Linked DNA regions of Homo sapiens: region 1 is linked to region 2. The links are contacts of gene promoters, found by promoter capture Hi-C in human tissues and cell types (Jung and others, 2019). All regions are on one chromosome and are shown on one strand. Each heading gives the region's core, a stretch centred on a gene start or on the middle of the fragment in contact. The rest is flanking DNA. Distances are from core to core; before and after follow the strand shown. Region 1 has its middle 21 kb from the start of PABPC4. Region 2 holds the start of GJA9 (gap junction protein alpha 9).

Region 1 (4,672 bases), core at 33-2,532, 720 kb after region 2:
TTTCATCGGGGGCTGTCTGTCCCTCCCTCCCTGGCTCTAGCTACACTGGTCTTGCAGGTCCTTGAAGATGTCACATGCTCATCTGCCAGGAACGTTCTGGAATGCTCTTCCCAATCTCACCCTTGCACTATATTCCCATCTTTTGCTAAAATAATGGCCCTCAGATCGTGGCTCCAGTGTCCCTCCCTGGGAGTCTCGTGATCAGGGGACCCTGCCGTCGTTATCTCATGGTCCTTCTACTTTTTCTTCATAGCACTTACTGCCATTTGTGATGATCTCTTGTGTGTCTGTGATTACATCTATGCCCCCTCTAGAATGTAAGCTTCTCAAAGCTGGACTGTGTCTTGCTCACCCTCTATGCTCAGGGCCCAGCCGGGCCAGGCACGTGCTAAGCACTCATCTGAATGCAGCATGTGCGAACAGATGCATGCACCCAGTTACTCACCCTGGTGGCTCCTGCCTCAGTCCCTGGCATGTTGACACCACTCAGATTGTGGCTGCCCCTGTGGAGTTAGGAATTGCCTCGGCATCAGCCTTCGAACAAGGGGCTCCACGCTGTCATTTTGCACCTGGCCTCACAAATGATGTAGCTGATCCTGAGCAGAAGATTGAGGAAGGTGGAAAGTAAGGACACTGGGGTGGATGACCCCTTTCAGAGCACGCAGAGAAGGCAGGAGACATGGGGTCAGGACAGTCTCTCCCAGCTTGGACCTTGTGCTGGCTTTTCTTTGAGGAGTCATGGAGATTAGATCTAGGACCTCTTCCTGGGCAGGGGAAGGGTCCCAGAAGAGCCATGCGGGTGGGGTCAGAGTTTCTGCCTTGGGTCTCAAAGGGCCTCAAGCCTGCGCCCCCTAGCCATGGCTTGGCCTCTTCCTCCTGGCCTCTCCCCACACTTCAATGTTTGCTTATCCTGGACCCCACAACCCCCTTATGCTATAGGAAGGCATAGGTCCAGAGTATGCATTGTTTTAGTTTAAACATTTAAAATATAGAAAGCTCAGAGGTGAACTTAACTAACGCCCATGTGCTTACCACTCAGAATAAGCAACTGTTAACATTTTTGCTTCAGATTTTTTTTTATATAAAACAAATAGAGCATCATAGACAGAGCTGAAGTTCCCTTTGTTCCTCTGCCCAGTCCAATTCCTCCCCTCCTTTCAATCCCAGGAGCAGTTGTTACTACTAATCTGATGTGTTTCCTTCCAATCTATTTCGATGAGCAAAACAGAATGTGTGTTAATGGAAGCATTATTCCTCACAGCCAAAAAAAAAAAAAAATGGAAACAATCCAAACGTCCATCAACTGATAAATGGATAAACAAAATGTGGCCTATCCATATAATGAAATATTATTAAGCAATAAAAATAAATCAAGTGCCAATCCATGCTAACATGGATCGGCCCTTTTTTTTTTTTTTTTTTTTTTTTGAGACAGGCTCTGGGTCTGTCACCCAGGCTGCAGTGCAGTGGTGCGATCTCTGCTCACTACCACCTCTACCTCCTGGGCTCAAGCCATCCTCCCACCTTAGCCTCGCAAGTAGCTGGGACTACAGGCACGCACCACCACACCTGGCTAATTTTTGTATTTTTTGTAGAGATGAGGTTTTGCCATGTCACCCAGGCAGGTCTCGAACTCCTGGGCTCAAGCAATCTGCCTGCTTAGGCCTCCCAAAGTGCTGGGATTACAGGCGTGAGCCACCACACCCTGTGTGATCAACCTTGAACACATTTTAAGTGACAGAAGCTAGATGCAAAAGGCTACGTATTATATGACTACATTTATACAGAATAGGCAAATCCACAGAGACAGAAGCAGATTAGTGGTTGCCAACGGGGAAGAGCAGAATACAAGTGGCTGATTAACGGGTGTGGGACTCCTTTTTGGGGTGATAAAAATGTTCTAGAATTAGGCAGTGGTGGTGGTTGCAAAACATCTGCAACCACCACTAAGATGGTTTTCCTTTCTTTTTCAAGGTCGTATAATATTCTCCTATGTGAATAAACCACATTTTCTTTATTGTTGCATCATCAATGACCATTTTTGGGTTGCTTCTAAACAACAGAAAAAACACTGAATTATATACTTTAAAATGGTTAAAATGATGACTTCTATGTACTTGAAAAAACACATAACATTGTTTACCCTCTGACCCATTTTAAGTGCAGGTTCAGTAGCCTTAAGTGTATTTAAAGGCTTGTGAAACAGACATCTAGGACTTTTTCTGGCTGCAAAACTGAAACTGTGTATCTACTAAACATGAATTCTCCCTCCCCCACCTCCACACTCAGCAATCACCTTTCCACTTTCTGCTTCTATAATTTTGACTGCTTTAGATTCTTCACATGAGTGTAATCATACAGTATTTGTCCTTTTGTGACTGGCTTATTTCTTTCTTTCTTTTTTTTTTTTTTGAGACAGAGTTTTGCTCTTGTTGCCCAGGCTGGAGTGCAATGGCATGATCTCGGCTCACTGCAAACTCCGTCTCCTGGGTTCAAGCAATTCCTGGGTTCAAGCGATTCTCCTGTCTCAGTCTCCCGAGTAGCTAGGATTACAGGCACCTGCCACTACGTCCAGCTAATTTTTTGTATTTTTAGTAGAGACAGGGTTCCACTATGTTGGCCAGGCTGGTCTCGAACTCCTGACCTCAGGTGATCCACCCACCTCGGCCTCCCAAAGTGCTGGGATTACAGGCGTGAGCCACCGTGCCCCGCCAGATCAACCTTGAAGACATCTTAAGTGACAGAAGCCAGATGCAAAAGGCTACCTATTACATGACTACATTTACACAGAATAGGCAAATCCAGAGACAGAAAGCAGATTAGTGGTTGCCAAGGGGGAAGAGGAGAACACAAGTGGCTGATTAATGGGTGCTGGGCTCCTTTTTGGGTGATAAAAATGTTCCAGAATTAGGCAGTGGTGGTGGTTGCAAAACATCTGCATATACTAAAAACCACTGAGTTGTGTACTTTAAAATGGTTTAAATGATGACTTCTATGTACTTAAAAAAAACACGTAACATTGTTTACCCTCTGACCCATTTTAAGGGCAGGTTCAGTAGCCTTAAGTGTATTTAAAGGCTTGTGAAACAGACATCTAGGACTTTTTCTCGCTGCAAAACTGAAACTGTGTATCTACTAAACATGAATTCTCCCTCCCCCACCTCCACCCTCAGCAACCACCTTTCCACTTTCTGCTTCTGTAATTTTGACTGCTTTAGATTCTTCACATGAGTGTAATCATACAGTGTTTGTCCTTTTGTGACTGGCTTATTTCACTTAGCATAATGTTCTTGAGGTTCATCCATGTTGCAGCATGTGACTGGATTTCCTTTCTTTTTCAAGGTCGTATAATATTCCCCTATGTGAATAAACCACATTTTCTTTATTGTTGCATCATCAATGGCCATTTTTGGGTTGCTTCTACCTCTTGGCTATTGTGAATAATGTTGTAATGAATGTGGGTGTGCAACTATCTCTTTGAGATCCTGCTTTATTTCGGACAAAAACTAAGAAATGATATTTGCTGGATCATATGGTCATTCTATTTTTAATTTTTTGAGGAACCTCCATACCGTTTTCCATAGTGGCTGCACCATTTCCCATTCCCACCAACCCAATGTTCAGAGAATTGGAACCCAGGGCATAAGGGTTCCAATTGCTCTGCATCTTCATTAAGAGTTCTTATTTCCTGTTCTTGTGATAGTGGCCATTTTAATGGGTGTGAAGTGATTTTATTTATTTGGATAATTTTTACACCTGATCTTAGCCCAAAGGCCAAGAAGTTATATCATTTTAATAATTTTACAAACTGTAATTTAAAAATATTTGTCTGTAGACATATTACTGCAACTCGTTTTGTCACATTGTATTTCTACATACAGAACTGGTTCATTTATTTTACTTTATTTTGTGTTTTTTTGAGACGGAGTCTCTGTCACCCAGGCTGGAGTGCAGTGGCGTGATCTCAGCTCACTGCAACCTCTGTCTCTCTGGTTCAAGCGATTCTCCTGCCTCAGCCTCCCAAGTAGCTGAGATTACAGGTGCCCGCCACCACGCCTGGCTAATTTTTGTATTTTTAGTAGAGACGGGGTTTGGCCACATTGGCGAGGCTGCTCTTGAACCTCTGACCTCAGGTGATCCGCACGTCTCTGTCTCCCAACGTGCTGGGATTACAGGCGTGAGCCACCGTGCTCAGCCGGTTGTGTGGTTTTAATTGGCATTGTTTTTCCTTTATTTCTAGTTTTTTTTTTCTTTTCTTTTCCCTTCCTTCTTCCTTTCTTCCTTCTTTCCCTTCCCTCCCTTTTGGTCCTTTCTTGCCTAGTCGTGGACCTTTATTGATTTTTATTATTATTATTTTTTAGATGGAGTCTAGCTCTGTCACCCAGGCTGGAGTGCAGTGGCCTCATATCTGCTCACTGCAACCTATGCCTCCCGCGTTAAAGCGATTCTCCTGCCTCAGCCTTCCGAGTAGCTGGAATTACAGGCGCCTGCCACCACGCCCAGCTAATTTTTGTATTTTTAGTAGAGGCGGGGTTTCACGGTGTTAGCCAGGCTGGTCTCGAACTCCTGACCTCGTGATCCGCCTGCCTCGGCCACCCAAAGTGCTGGGATTACAAGCATGAGCCACGGCGTCTGGCCCGACCTTTTTATATCCACGTGGATCTGGAATCAG
Region 2 (5,163 bases), core at 74-2,573:
CGTGGTGGCGGGCGCCTGTAGTCCCAGCTACTCGGGAGGCTGAGGCAGAAGAATCACTTGAACCCAGAGGCAGAGGTTGCAGTGAGCCGAGATCACACCATTGCACTCCAGCCTGGGCGACAGAGCAAGACTCTGTCTCAAAAAAAAATAAATAATAATAATAATAATAATAATAATAATAATAATAATAGCATACTCTGACCCAACAACCCAAAGCACTTTAAAATGTAAGCAAGTTGGCCAGGCGCGGTGGCTCACGCCTGTAATCCCAGCACTTTGGGAGGCACAGGCGGGCGGATTACGAGGTCAGGAGTTCGAGACCAGCCTGAGCAACATGGTTGAACCCCATCTCTACTAAAAATACAAAAATTAGCCGGGCATGGTGGCACATGCCTGTAATCCCAGCTACTCAGGAGACTGAGGCAGGAGAATCGCTTGAACCTGGGAGGTGAAGGTTGCAGTGAGCCGAGATCTGGCCACTGCATTCCAGCCTGGGCAATAGAGTGAGACTCTGTCTCAAAAAATAAAAAAAAAGTAAGCAAGTTAAGTCTCATTTATGGTTCATAAATAATAATAATGTAAGCAAAGATGTAATTCATGTTGTTTATAATAGTCATAAGCTAAAAACATAAAATAATAATACAAGAAAAACTGGTTAAATAATCGACTACATCCACGGTGTGATACTATGCAACCAGTAGAAATGATAAACATACATAAAATGGCATTTGATATTTCATTTCAGTGAAATTGATGTTATAAAATAGAATAATATGGCCCCATTATTATAAGTTTAGTTACATTTACAGATGTATACAAAAAAGTCTAGAAGGATATTCATGAAAATATTAACGGTGATTAGCTCTGGATGTTGGGATTACAAATTATATACTTAATATATTGTAATTACATGTATTTTAATTTTTTACTATAAGCATTTTACTTTTATAATCATAAAAAGAAAGAAAATATTTTTTTCATAAAGGACAACACATAGTATTTCCTGAAAGAAGGAGCAGTAGTATTTAGCTACAAATTAAAGCTTTCATAGCAAATGACATAAAAACTGGTATACATATATACAGTACCATAGAATTCAAAAGAAAAAGATAAAAACATTTCAAACAACTCTTTCTTAATAAGCTAAAACAGAGAGATTAACACAAACCTTTCTTAGTTTAGGTAAATCTGAGAAGCAAACCATGTTTAGAAGTTACAGCATGGCCATCTTCAATTTATTTTCTGAATTTGTCCCTTTGCTGGTATAGAGCAGATTCAGTTCAGTTGAATGTAGTGAGTGAGTCATCCATCAACTAAAATCCATGTCCCTTTCTGCTTATCCTTGCTTTTAAAACAGCACCATCCAATAGAACTTTCTGCAACAATGGAAATATTCTATCTGTGCTAGCCAATAAGGCAGCCAGTAGCCAAATGTAGCTATTGAACACTTGCATTATGGTTTGTGTGTCAGAGCAATTGAATTTTTAATTTTAAATAATTTTAATAAAAATGTAAAGAGCTGCATCTACCTAATGGCTGCTTTTTTGGACAGCACAGATAAAGAATGCTTATAATAGTCCTGATAACACACTGCAATCTAGAAGACTAAAGTCATGAGCCCCAAATTAAGCTGAGTGAATGATTCCTCCATAATTCAGAGATGTCAAATTTAAAATGACAGGAGGTATTTGTGTGCTGTTTGTATGCAACTTTTGCCACTGGGGGAACCTAATAAAATGTCATTGTTTTTTGTGCAATAAACCATGTTTCTAGAACCAAAAAAGTCTTTCTTACTAGATAATAACTTCTTGGTCATCTGCCTTAATAAATGGGTCATGTCCGATTTCATAGATAGATCCTGATTCTGTCTCCCATGTTCTGTTATTAACAATTACATTGTATTTTAGGTCATTAAAGGTCCCTTCAGAGCTAGTGATCTGGCAGGTTGAGCATAACAGATAAATACTTCTTCCCTGGGCTTTTTTGCCAACAATAGCTACTTCTCAGATTAAATACAAACATTTCACCAGGGACAAATATATATATATATATATATATATATATATATATATATATATATATATATATTTACATATATATTTTTATATATATATTATTTATATATATATATATTTGTATAGGCACACATACATGCACAATATATTCATGTTTCTATATTATGTGTTATCTGAATTACATATGTGTAACTCATAAATTATTAATAAACTCGAAACTTCCTCAACCTCGGTAGTCAGAGAATACATATTTAAGTGAAATATTATTTTTTAACTATCAAAATGCAAAATTTTAAAGATTTATAATACCTTCTTTTGGCAAAGTAGGGAGACACTGTTACTCTCATATCCTGTAGGTAAGAATATAAATGGATACAGCTATTTAAAAGGCAGTTTAAACCTATCAATATTAGTATAGCATTTCTGCTTTTGGATACTTGAAATATTCATTCAGCATAGACATTCAGAGACACACTGCACATGCTAGGATGTTCACATAGCACTGTTGGTAATTATACAAAAGCAGCAATAATTTAAATGTCTGACAGAGGAATGGTTATCTATGGTACATCTATATCATTCAGCAATTCAGAGAATAAAGATTTCTATGAACTAATAGAGAAAGGTCCCTAGGTCATGTTGTAAAGCAAGTTATAGAACAATACATGTATCACATTTATCCTGTTAAAACCTACATTTCATAAAAATATCTAATTAGAGGCTGGGCTCATGTCTATAATCCTAGCACTTTGGGAGGAGGCTGAGACAGGCGGATCACCTGAAGTCAGGAGTTCAAGACCAGCCTGGCCAATGTGGTGAAACCCAGTCTCTATTAAAAATACCAAAAATTAGCCAGGCATGGTGGCACATGCCTATAATCCCAGCTACCCGGGAGGCTGAGGCAGGAGAATTGCTTGAACCCAGGAGGCAGAGGTTGCAGTGAGCCGAGATGGCGCCACTGCACTCCAGCCTGGGCGACACAGCAAGACCCTGTCTCAAGAAAAAAAAAAATATATATATACACACACACACACACACACACACACACACACACACACACACATATATATTTAGCTAAAATCGATTAACAAAAACTTTTCCTAGTTGAGATCAATCTGAGAAGCAAATGATGCTTAGGAGGAGTTATACCATGGACACCTCTAATTTGTTCTTCAGATTTGTCCCTTTGAGGGTGTAGAGCAGATTCAGTGAAGTTCAATACAGTGGATGAGTTGGACATTAACTTAAATCCATTTTCCTTTCTGCTCATCCTACATAGAAAAATGTCTGCAAGGATACAGACCATACTGTTGTGACCACTGATGATGGTCAGCACTAGGGAAAAACAGCAGGTTTGAAGTGAGAAGGCAAAAGGAGATTTTTTTTTTTTTTAAGACAGGGTCTCACTCTGTCACCCAGGCTGGAGGGCAGTGGCATGATCATAGCTCACTGTAACCTCGAACTCCTGGGTTCCAGTGATCCTCCCACCTCAGCCTCTGGAGTAGCTAGAACTACAGGCAAGCACCACCACACCTGGTTATTTTTTATGTTTTTGTAGAGTTCTTGAATGTTACCCAGGCTGTTCTCAAACTCCTGGGCTCAAGCAGTCCTCCCACATTGGCCTCCCAAAGTGCTGAGATTATAGGCATGAGCCACTGCACCTGGCTGAGATTTTATCTTTTAACTTCTTGTTTGAATCTTTGTTTAACCAAGAACACACTCATAAGGCCAGGCATGGTGGCTCACACCTGTAATCCCAGCACTTTGGGAGGCTGAGGTGGGTGGATCACTTGAGGTCAGGGGTTTGAGACCAGCCTGGCCAACATGGTGAAACACCGTCTCTACTAAAAAATACAAAAATTAGCCGAGTGCAGTGGTTCACACCTGTAATCCCAGCACTTTGGGAGGCCGAGGTGGGCGGATCACCTAAGGTCAGGAGTTCAAGACCAGCCTGGCCAACATGGTGAAACCCCGTCTCTACTAAAAATACAAAAATTAGCCAGGCGTGGTGGCAGGTGCCTGTAATCCCAGCTACTCAGGAGGCTGAGGCAGGAGAATCACTTGAACCCAGTGGGTGGAGGTGGCAGTGAGCCGAGATCGTACCATCGCACTCTAGCCTAGATGACAAGAGCGAAACTCCATCTCAAAAAAAAAAAAAAATTAGGGACCGGGCACAGTGGCTCACACCTGTAATCCCAGCACTTTGGGAGGCCAAGGCGGGCAGATCGCCTGAGGGCCTGAGGTCGGGAGTTCGAGACCAGCCTGGCCAGCATGGTGAAACCCCGTCTCTACTAAAAATAAATAAATAAATAAATAAATAAATAAATAAATAAATAAATAAATAAATTAGTCAGGTTTGGTGGCGGCCACCTGTAATCCCAGCTACTCAGGAAGCTGAGATAGGAGAATCACTTGAACCCAGGAGGCGGAGGTTTCAGTGAACCAAGATCCGGCCACTGCACTCCAGCCTGGGCGACAGAGCAAGACTCGGTCTCAAAAAAAAAAAAATAATAATTAGCCAGATGTGGTGGCGCATGCCTGTAATCCCAGCTACTCTGGAGGCTGAGGTAGGAGAATTGCTTGAACCCAGGAGGCAGAGGTTGCAGTGAGCCAAGATCAGCCCACTGCACTCCAGCCTGGGAAACAGAGCGAGACTCCATCTCAAAAAAAAACAAAACAAAAAAAAAAACACTCATATTCCCATGTTTATACTTAAATTTAACTTTTTAAACAAATTTCTGATCAGTTTTTCTCAAAATACTAAAGTATTAACTTTTCTCACTATATCTAACTAAGTGTATATGCCCCTTCCAGATACAGTGACATGTTTAGATGGGTGTTTAATAAATACATTGATGATAAAAGAAAAAATTATATTTCCTATATTCAGATGACCCAAAACTACCATTTCCAAAAACATAATAAACCACAGTCTGAATTCTATACAGGAAAATGACACATGCTTCTCAGCTTTCAGGTATGACATTTTACCTTCTGTAAATAAATCCTACCCACTCCTAGGAGAGCCATGACCCACATGAAGGATGACAGTCTGATCACAGATGAGAATCTGAAGTCTAGGTATATAGTGTGCACCAGAAAGCCAGTGCCCGGTTCCTTGGGATCTTAGACACGGTATCAGAATCTT

What was found. The method cuts DNA at HindIII sites, captures the fragments that hold promoters and counts their contacts. A contact is called where the count stands out against the background at its distance.
Region 1: a contact is called between a fragment that was not itself captured here and the fragment with the promoter of GJA9 in region 2, in 1 of the 25 tissues and cell types used here (lymphoblastoid cells).

The regions. Positions count from the first base shown.
Region 1 is chr1:39,595,944-39,600,615 of GRCh38, forward strand. No RefSeq gene overlaps it. Among named protein-coding and RNA genes, the nearest start is that of PABPC4, 21 kb to the left of the region's middle. RefSeq lists silencers at 1,806-1,895, 2,646-2,775. The HindIII fragment of the contact is 3,448 bases long and covers 1-3,006 here.
Region 2 is chr1:38,880,264-38,885,426 of GRCh38, forward strand. It overlaps GJA9 (gap junction protein alpha 9), which reads right to left and starts at 1,324. Exons shown (of 2, transcript NM_030772.5): 1 at 1,169-1,324. It overlaps GJA9-MYCBP (GJA9-MYCBP readthrough), which reads right to left and starts at 1,363. Exons shown (of 3, transcript NR_037637.1): 1 at 1,169-1,363. The HindIII fragment of the contact is 16,120 bases long and covers 1-5,163 here.